Regions from separate parts of the Homo sapiens genome. Here region 2 is linked to region 1. Evidence: promoter capture Hi-C in 16 types of primary human blood cells and fetal thymus (Javierre and others, 2016). All regions are on one chromosome and are shown on one strand. Each heading gives the region's core, a stretch centred on a gene start or on the middle of the fragment in contact. The rest is flanking DNA. Distances are from core to core; before and after follow the strand shown.

Region 1 (3,641 bases), core at 826-3,325:
ATGAGAAACTAAGAAGATGTGCTTGAGTCCTTTCTCATTCTTTTGTCCCTACCCCCTCTTTTGTCTTTTATTACTTTCTATAGTAAACTAAATAATGTGTTCCAAAGATTTCAGGTCCTAATACTTGGAACCTGTGAATGTTACCTTATATGGCAAAGTGTTGGAAACTATGATTAAGTTAAGGATCTTAAGAAGGGGAGATTATCCTGGATTATCTGGGTAGCTGGTAAATGCAATTACATATATCCTTTAAGAGGAAACCAGAAGGAGATTTTACAAACAGAAGAGAAGGACAATGTGAAGATGGAAAAGTTGGAGCAGAGTGAGATTTCAAGATGCTGGCTTACAAGACTGCAGTGATTCAGTCACAAGTCAAGGAATGCTGGCAGTCACCAGAAGCTAGAAGAAATGAGGAATGATTATCCATTCATCAGTCAGTGGACATTTAAAAAGATTACTTTTCAAGGCTGTTTCTAGGATCTTGGCAGGTAGGTAAGAGGCAACCAGACTTAAGATTCATGAGTGAGGTATCATGAGAATGAGGAAGGCTTCTACACTCCAATTTGCACTCTGGCTTCCCTCATAATAATAGCCCCACACTGAGTGATGACCATAAGCAGAACACAATATGTGCATAATCTCTACGTTCACAAAAACTCGGCAAGGTAGTTATCATTACCTTCATTTTACAAATGAGGAAGAAACTCAATCAGAAATAACTTTTCCAAGTCACAGTATTAGTAAGTGACAGAGCCAGGTTACCTCCAGTTTGATCTGCCACCAAAAAAAGAGCTATCTCCAGCTCAACAAAATGTCTTGCTGTGTTGCTACTCCCAATTTCCTGAGTCTGGGTTTTGTAAAGTCTCAAAGCTAATTAGAGTCTACTGTAAATCTATTCCTCCAGAAACTGCATTACACAGTTTGTACATACCAAAAATATGCATAATAAATTTTTCCAGATAGCATTCTAGCTTGTTGATGCCAATTTGGTCCCAAGGTCTTATGCCTCACTTGATTATTTATTTTGTAATTGTTGGGTAAAAACCAGATAAAAGAGAGGCAAAAGAGGAAGTTATAAACTTAATGCTAGTGTCTTAGTGCTGGATGTCACCTTAAATCATGTGTTGACAATAAATTACATCACAAAAACCTTAGCGCTAGAAGAGCTCTTGGATTATCAAATGCAAACTGCTTTTACAGATGAGGAAAACAAACCCAAAAATTTTGCATATTTGTTTAATAACTAACAAACTCATCAAAGCAGAATTGCATTGCAATGTAAACGGATATTTAACACTGTAAATTCTGAGTGGGAAGTAACTCCAAACTTATTTTGATCATGCAAACGTTGCATTGTAAAATTCCATTATTGTCTCCATTATTTTTTTCTTCTCAAGCATTTATGTAGGGATGTATGAAACTGATGTCCACGTAAGGGCAAAATCCAGCCCTACTTTTTATTTTGGGTGAGGAGGAAAACTTTTAAATAGCCCTTTTCAGTTGTAGGATCTTGACATTCCATGTTCAGAATATGAACTGTCTTTAATCCCATTCTACAAAACGAAAACCCAAATATTCACAAAGTCTTGTCAAGTCACATCCTTAAATGAAGTTCTTTTACATTAAAAAATGCTACCGAGCAATCCCTGAAACACAGTGTGGTTGGTTTCATTTGTTTTTCTGGGCATCTCGTTTCCTACACTGGGTTACAACATATTTGTTTGGGTTCGTGGTGGAAATGTCACAGCATGTTTAACTACATTCATTACCCTTGACAATTATTAACATAAAATAAAGGCAAAACGAGGTGCTAAGATGTAGGGGGAAAAAATCGGTCTGAGTAAGGCTGCCCATGCCCTTCCCTGCAAGAATTTCCAAATACCCACCGCCCAGGAGCAAAGGACAGAAAACACAGAGAAGCCCCACCCCTACACCCAGAAATAAAGAGATCCGCCCACCCTTCAACCAACCCGAAGTCGCTTTCTCCGCTCTGTCCACTGCTTGAGCGACTTTCCTTCTCCTCCGCGTCCCCTTTTACGACAGTTTTCCGGCCTAGTTTGCGGCTGCTCCTGCCGTGTTGCGTAGGGCGCCTGTGCTTGAGGTTGGGGGTTGCGTCGCTCTCTGGTAAAGGCGTGCAGGTGTTGGCCGCGGCCTCTGAGCTGGGATGAGCCGTGCTCCCGGTGGAAGCAAGGGAGCCCAGCCGGAGCCATGGTGAGTGCGGCCTTCCGGTCTTCTTGGCGACCTCCGGCCCAGGCCTCAACCTCAGCTCCCCGCCTCGGAGGTGTGGAGTTGAAGTTGTGCTCCTTAGTGCGACTGCGGGCGGGAGGTTTCGGTTATTGGGGAGTCACACTCACCAGGACACAACCCTGTTGGCTCGCTCTCTTGGGGGTTTGTGTTTTTACATCGTCTTTCTGCACGGTTCTCCAGCTTCTTGTCCGCACGGGCTCTGCAGGTGTTGCTTGCCTGGAACTCCTGTAAGGTCAGAGGCTGTCATGGACTCGGAGATTAGTGGAAACGTATTTGATTATAAGTGCCCTTGCCCTAACACATCTTCACAGCACTAGCTCCACTTTGCTATGTCCTTCTCTTTGGCTTTTGCTGACAGATGTCTTCTCCATGCTTCCTGAACATATTTGGGCCTGTCTTGTTAGGAAACAACAGGGCAGTGCCAAAGGTATTAGTCTCCTAGTTTAGCCCACGTTTAGCCTCGAAAATGCGTTGTTAGAATTTTACAGGAGCCGTCTGTAAACAGTTTTTCCTTCTGTAGCAGAAACCTTATTTCCACATTTTTTTTTTTTTTTTTGAGACAGAGTCTTGCTCGGTCGCCTAGGCTGGAGTGCAGTGGCACAATCTTGGCTCACTACAAGCTCCGCCTCCCGGGTTCGCCATTCTCCTGCCTCAGCCTCCCAAGTAGCTGGGATTACAGGCGCCCACCACCACGCCCAGCTAATTTTTTTTTTTTTTGTATTTTTAGTAGAGACGGGGTTTCACCATGGTAGCCAGGATGGTCTCGATCTCCCGACCTAGTGATACGCCCGCCTCGCCTCCCAAAATGCTGGAATTACAGGCGTGAGCCACCGCGCCTGGCCTATTTCCACTACTTTTGATTGAACTTTAATGTGACTTAATTTGTCTGGTGATGAAAGAAGTTTTCAAAGGGAGGGAATCATCTTTTTCACTATTGTAAAGATAAATAAGCAAGTCGAACTTGCCCTCTTTCCCATATGATGAATCCTGTAACTTTAATGCATTCAGCATAACAGATGCAGTAGTTTTAAAGATTACTGGACAGAATATTTCCGCCTTAAAAGTTGTTTCTCTGCCAGGCATGGTGGCTTATGCCTATAATCTTAGCACTTTGGGAGGCCAAGGTGGGAGGATTGCTTGAGGCCAGGAGTTCAAGACCAGCCTAAGCAACATAGCAAGACTCCGTCTCTTAAAAAAAAAAAAAAAAAAAGAAAAAAAAAAGTTGTTTCTCCTATTAAAATGCAGTTTGTAATGAGTTGGGGATGGAAGAATGGGCAAAATGAGAAAGGGTGGGAATTAGAGAAGTAAATATTTACTCTTCTCCCCCTTACCAGGCCAGTACAGTGGTAGCAGTTGGACTGACCATTGCTGCTGCAGGATTTGCAGGTTTGTTT
Region 2 (3,641 bases), core at 404-2,903, 51 kb after region 1:
TATTACTTGCTGAGCAAGGCAGATATCTAAAATAAAAAGCAAAAATGTTACATGTGAAATGAGGGAGGAGGGATATTTCTACTGCCCTTCCAAGAGCCCAAAACACTGTACTAGATACCCAATGTAAACGAAATCTAAAGAACTCTTCATTTTCACATTACCTTCAAACTTTACAGGCGGAGCATATTTTTCTAGCAATCTTTAGTCAGCAAAAATCAATCATTAAGCAAATACTTATGAAATATTTACTATTAAGTGTTATGAAGATTTTTAAAGAGATGACACCATTTTTAAAAGGCAAATAAAAAACCACTAATTAGGTATAAAAATAAATATTTCCATTTTAGACCTTTTCAAAATTAACTTTCTACTATAAATCATATGTTGTCTTCTTGGGTCCACTGCTGGGCCATGACATTACTTTATGTGCTGTAACTTCATGTAAATTTCCTAAGGGGCTAGAAAGGCAAACCCTGTATTTAAGCAACCAATATATTTTTAATGTAACAAAATGTTAGTGTAAACCATATGAAACTGTCAATACTTAACCATTTCTGACCTACAAGAATGGAAATTTCTTATGGCTCAAGTCTTTAAAAATCACCTTACAAGCTTAATAAAGCTCTCTCTTGGATCATTTTTGTTCTAAATTTATTACTAAGGGCAAAGTCACCTTTTCTTTCCTTCAAAGGATTCCTAGAGCTGCAGAAGAATGTTGTGAGTCTGGCACAAAACTGACCAAACCCTCTGAATACATTTGGAAAAACAAAAAATGAAACTGGTTATCAGCTTCCCAACCTCCAGACTAACCTTGGACAAGCTAATAAAGTATTCACACAGTTAAGAAGAGGACACAAACCGTTTTGTGACTCTGAAATAATCTGTTTAAAAAGTATGATGGTAGAGCTCCCGGGCTGGTGAATCTATTGATGGGCTGGAAATGTGGCATGCTCAAAGAAGTCATGGAAGCTCTACTTTCCAAGCCCCTTCCCTCACCCCGACCTTGCCTCATGCATCTCTTTCATTTGGCAGTTCCTGACTTGTATCCTTTATAATAAACCAGTAAACAATCGAGCCTGACCATCTCTAAGTATGATTGAAGAATGACAGTTTACCTCTGCTATTTTGCACAATCCCAGAAAAATTTTAAGAAAAAGTGTTTATTGACCAAAAAATTACATTTCATAACTAAGGCGATCAGATATGAAGCAACCTAAAAGGATTACCACCCACACCCCCCCACCGGTATAAGGGAAAAATAGTGCAGGGAAGCAGATGTAGAAAACATAATTTAAAAATGTAAAAGTAAGCCTGCGCAGTGTCTCACGCCTATAATCTCAGCACTTTGGGAGGCCGAGGCGGGTGTTCACTTGAAGCCAGAAGTTCGAGACCAGCCTGGCCAACATCACAAAACACCATCTCTACTAAAAATAAAAAAATTAGCTGGGCATTGTGGCTCACACCTGTAATTCCAGCTACTCAGAGGCCAAGGCACGACAATCACTTAAAATCGGGAGGTGGAGGTTGCAGTGAACTGAGATTGTGCCACTGTACTCCAACCTGAGCAACTTAGTGAGACTCCATCTCAAAAAATAAAAAATAAAAAATAAAAAAATTGCCTAAGAAAAAAACACAAAAAAGATAAAAACTCAGGGCTGGGCACAGTGGCTCACACCTGTAATCCCAGAACTTTGGGAGGCCAAGGCAGGCTGATCACCTGAGGTCGGGAGTTTGAGACCAGCCTGACCAACATGGAGAAACCCCGTCGCTACTGAAAATACAAAATCAGCCGGGTATGATGGCGCATGCCTGTAATCCCAGCTACTAGGGAGGCTGAGGCAGGAGAATCGCTTGAACCCGGGAGGTGGAGGTTGTAGTGAGCCGAGATCGCACCATTGCACTCCAGCCTGAGCAACAGGAGCAAAACTCCATCTCAAAAATAAAATAAAATAAAAAAATAAAACTCAGCCATAAAATGCAAGGACTTCCTACACCAAAAACTGCACAAACAAAAAATAGACAATTCACAGAACAAGGGGTTAAGAGCCAACCAACTAATTTAAGTGATGTTCCCATACTACTATTCATTAAGGAAATGAGAATTCATGAGACATCAGTTTCCATCCACCAAGTTTACAAAACTGTACATATGAACAATATAATACAGTCACTTAATGTATGAAAAAGATACCTCCAGTGTTAATAAAAGTATAAAGTAATTCTGAAGACATTTTTGGAGGATGAAATGGTACATTTTAATACTTTTAAAAACATTAACCTCTTAGGAATTATACTACCAGACTTGCATAAGAATATTAACTTTAACTCTGGCATTGTTTTCTTTTGCTAACAGCAAAAAATCTGGTAATTTCAATGTCTTTTAATTTGATATATCCACACCAAATAATTTTGAGGTGGTTACAAAAAATGAGGTAAATTTAAATGAGAAGACACGAAAATGTTTGCTGTCCTAATTAAGTGAATACAAAAGTCACAAATATATAACTTAATCCCAATTTTTTTTCAACTTAAATATGTCCTTTATACATGCAAATAAAAAACTTACAAGAGAATCAACTCTGGTAAATGAGATTTAAGATAGGGTGGGTGGACAAGTACACCTACATTAAGATGGAAGGTTTACTTTGTACTTTATATAATTTTTTACCATTTCATTTTTTACATTAAGCTTTATTACTTTAAATTTAAAGAAGGGGAAGAGGCTTTCGAAACGTTACCTGGGAAAGCACTAACTCCGAATTTCTAAACACTCTACGTAATATGGATAAATCCTTAATAAACGGTGACAAAAAAACAAAATCCTATGGGTGGCAAGATTATGCTTAAACTTTTTCCTTATATTAATTTTTAAATTTTTCAAAAGTGAAAAAAAATCACATTTTAATTTCAGATAATGACTTACAAAATTCTAGAGAGCAAATTTGACCAGAGCTGAATCATAAAACATAACGTGAAATTTAAAAAAAACTCTAGATTCAATTTCTAAATCATTCAATCTCTAACACCAATGTCTTCTTCACAAAAGCGGAGGCAGACCACAGGGGTGAGCCAGACTGTTCAGGAACAGGGAAGGACCCTCCTGGACAGGAATGGAAAAAGTACACTGTAACAACACCCTCACCACCCCACCAAGAGTAGTTTTCCCTTTAATCTGAGACTTGACGCTACCAATTTTAAGTGTCTAAACAACAAAAAAGTGTAAGAAGCATTACTCTCAAAACTGAGTGCCACACATTTCTAATTCTAGAACATGTCCAAACCTACATCATTCCTTGCTTGACCTAACTTTTGCTTACTCAAAATCCAAAAAACACTGTATCAGAAATAAATTTTGAAAAATGAAAATGAATCAAGCCCTTTATTCTCACAGAAAACTATTAGAGATACAATATTGAGAAAAACATTTTCAATAAAATCTAAAGTCCAAATGAACACAGTAATCTGCAGCATCACTGCCATATATAGCACCCACCAAGGACTCCACTTCACACTCCTTGATTTGCAGCAGTCACTTCACCACTTTGTTTCCTCGTGTCTCCCCCAGATGCCACCAGTAACATTTTCCTCAAGAACTCTAATACACACAGATAGTTACAGGTATCCTTACAAAAAGTTACTTC

What was found. The method cuts DNA at HindIII sites, captures the fragments that hold promoters and counts their contacts. A CHiCAGO score of 5 or more calls a contact.
Region 2: a fragment that was not itself captured here is called in contact with the fragment with the promoter of DNAJC19 in region 1 in 4 of 17 cell types (non-activated CD4 T cells, naive CD4 T cells, naive CD8 T cells and 1 more); the score reaches 5.5 in non-activated CD4 T cells.

What each region holds. Positions count from the first base shown.
Region 1 is chr3:180,988,170-180,991,810 of GRCh38, reverse strand. It overlaps DNAJC19 (DnaJ heat shock protein family (Hsp40) member C19), which reads left to right and starts at 2,075. Exons shown (of 6, transcript NM_145261.4): 1 at 2,075-2,211; 2 at 3,582-3,633. The coding sequence starts at 2,209. The HindIII fragment of the contact is 8,604 bases long and covers 1-3,641 here.
Region 2 is chr3:180,936,860-180,940,500 of GRCh38, reverse strand. All of the region lies in intron 3 of FXR1 (FMR1 autosomal homolog 1), which reads right to left. Among named protein-coding and RNA genes, the nearest start is that of FXR1, 26 kb to the right of the region's middle. The HindIII fragment of the contact is 2,077 bases long and covers 615-2,691 here.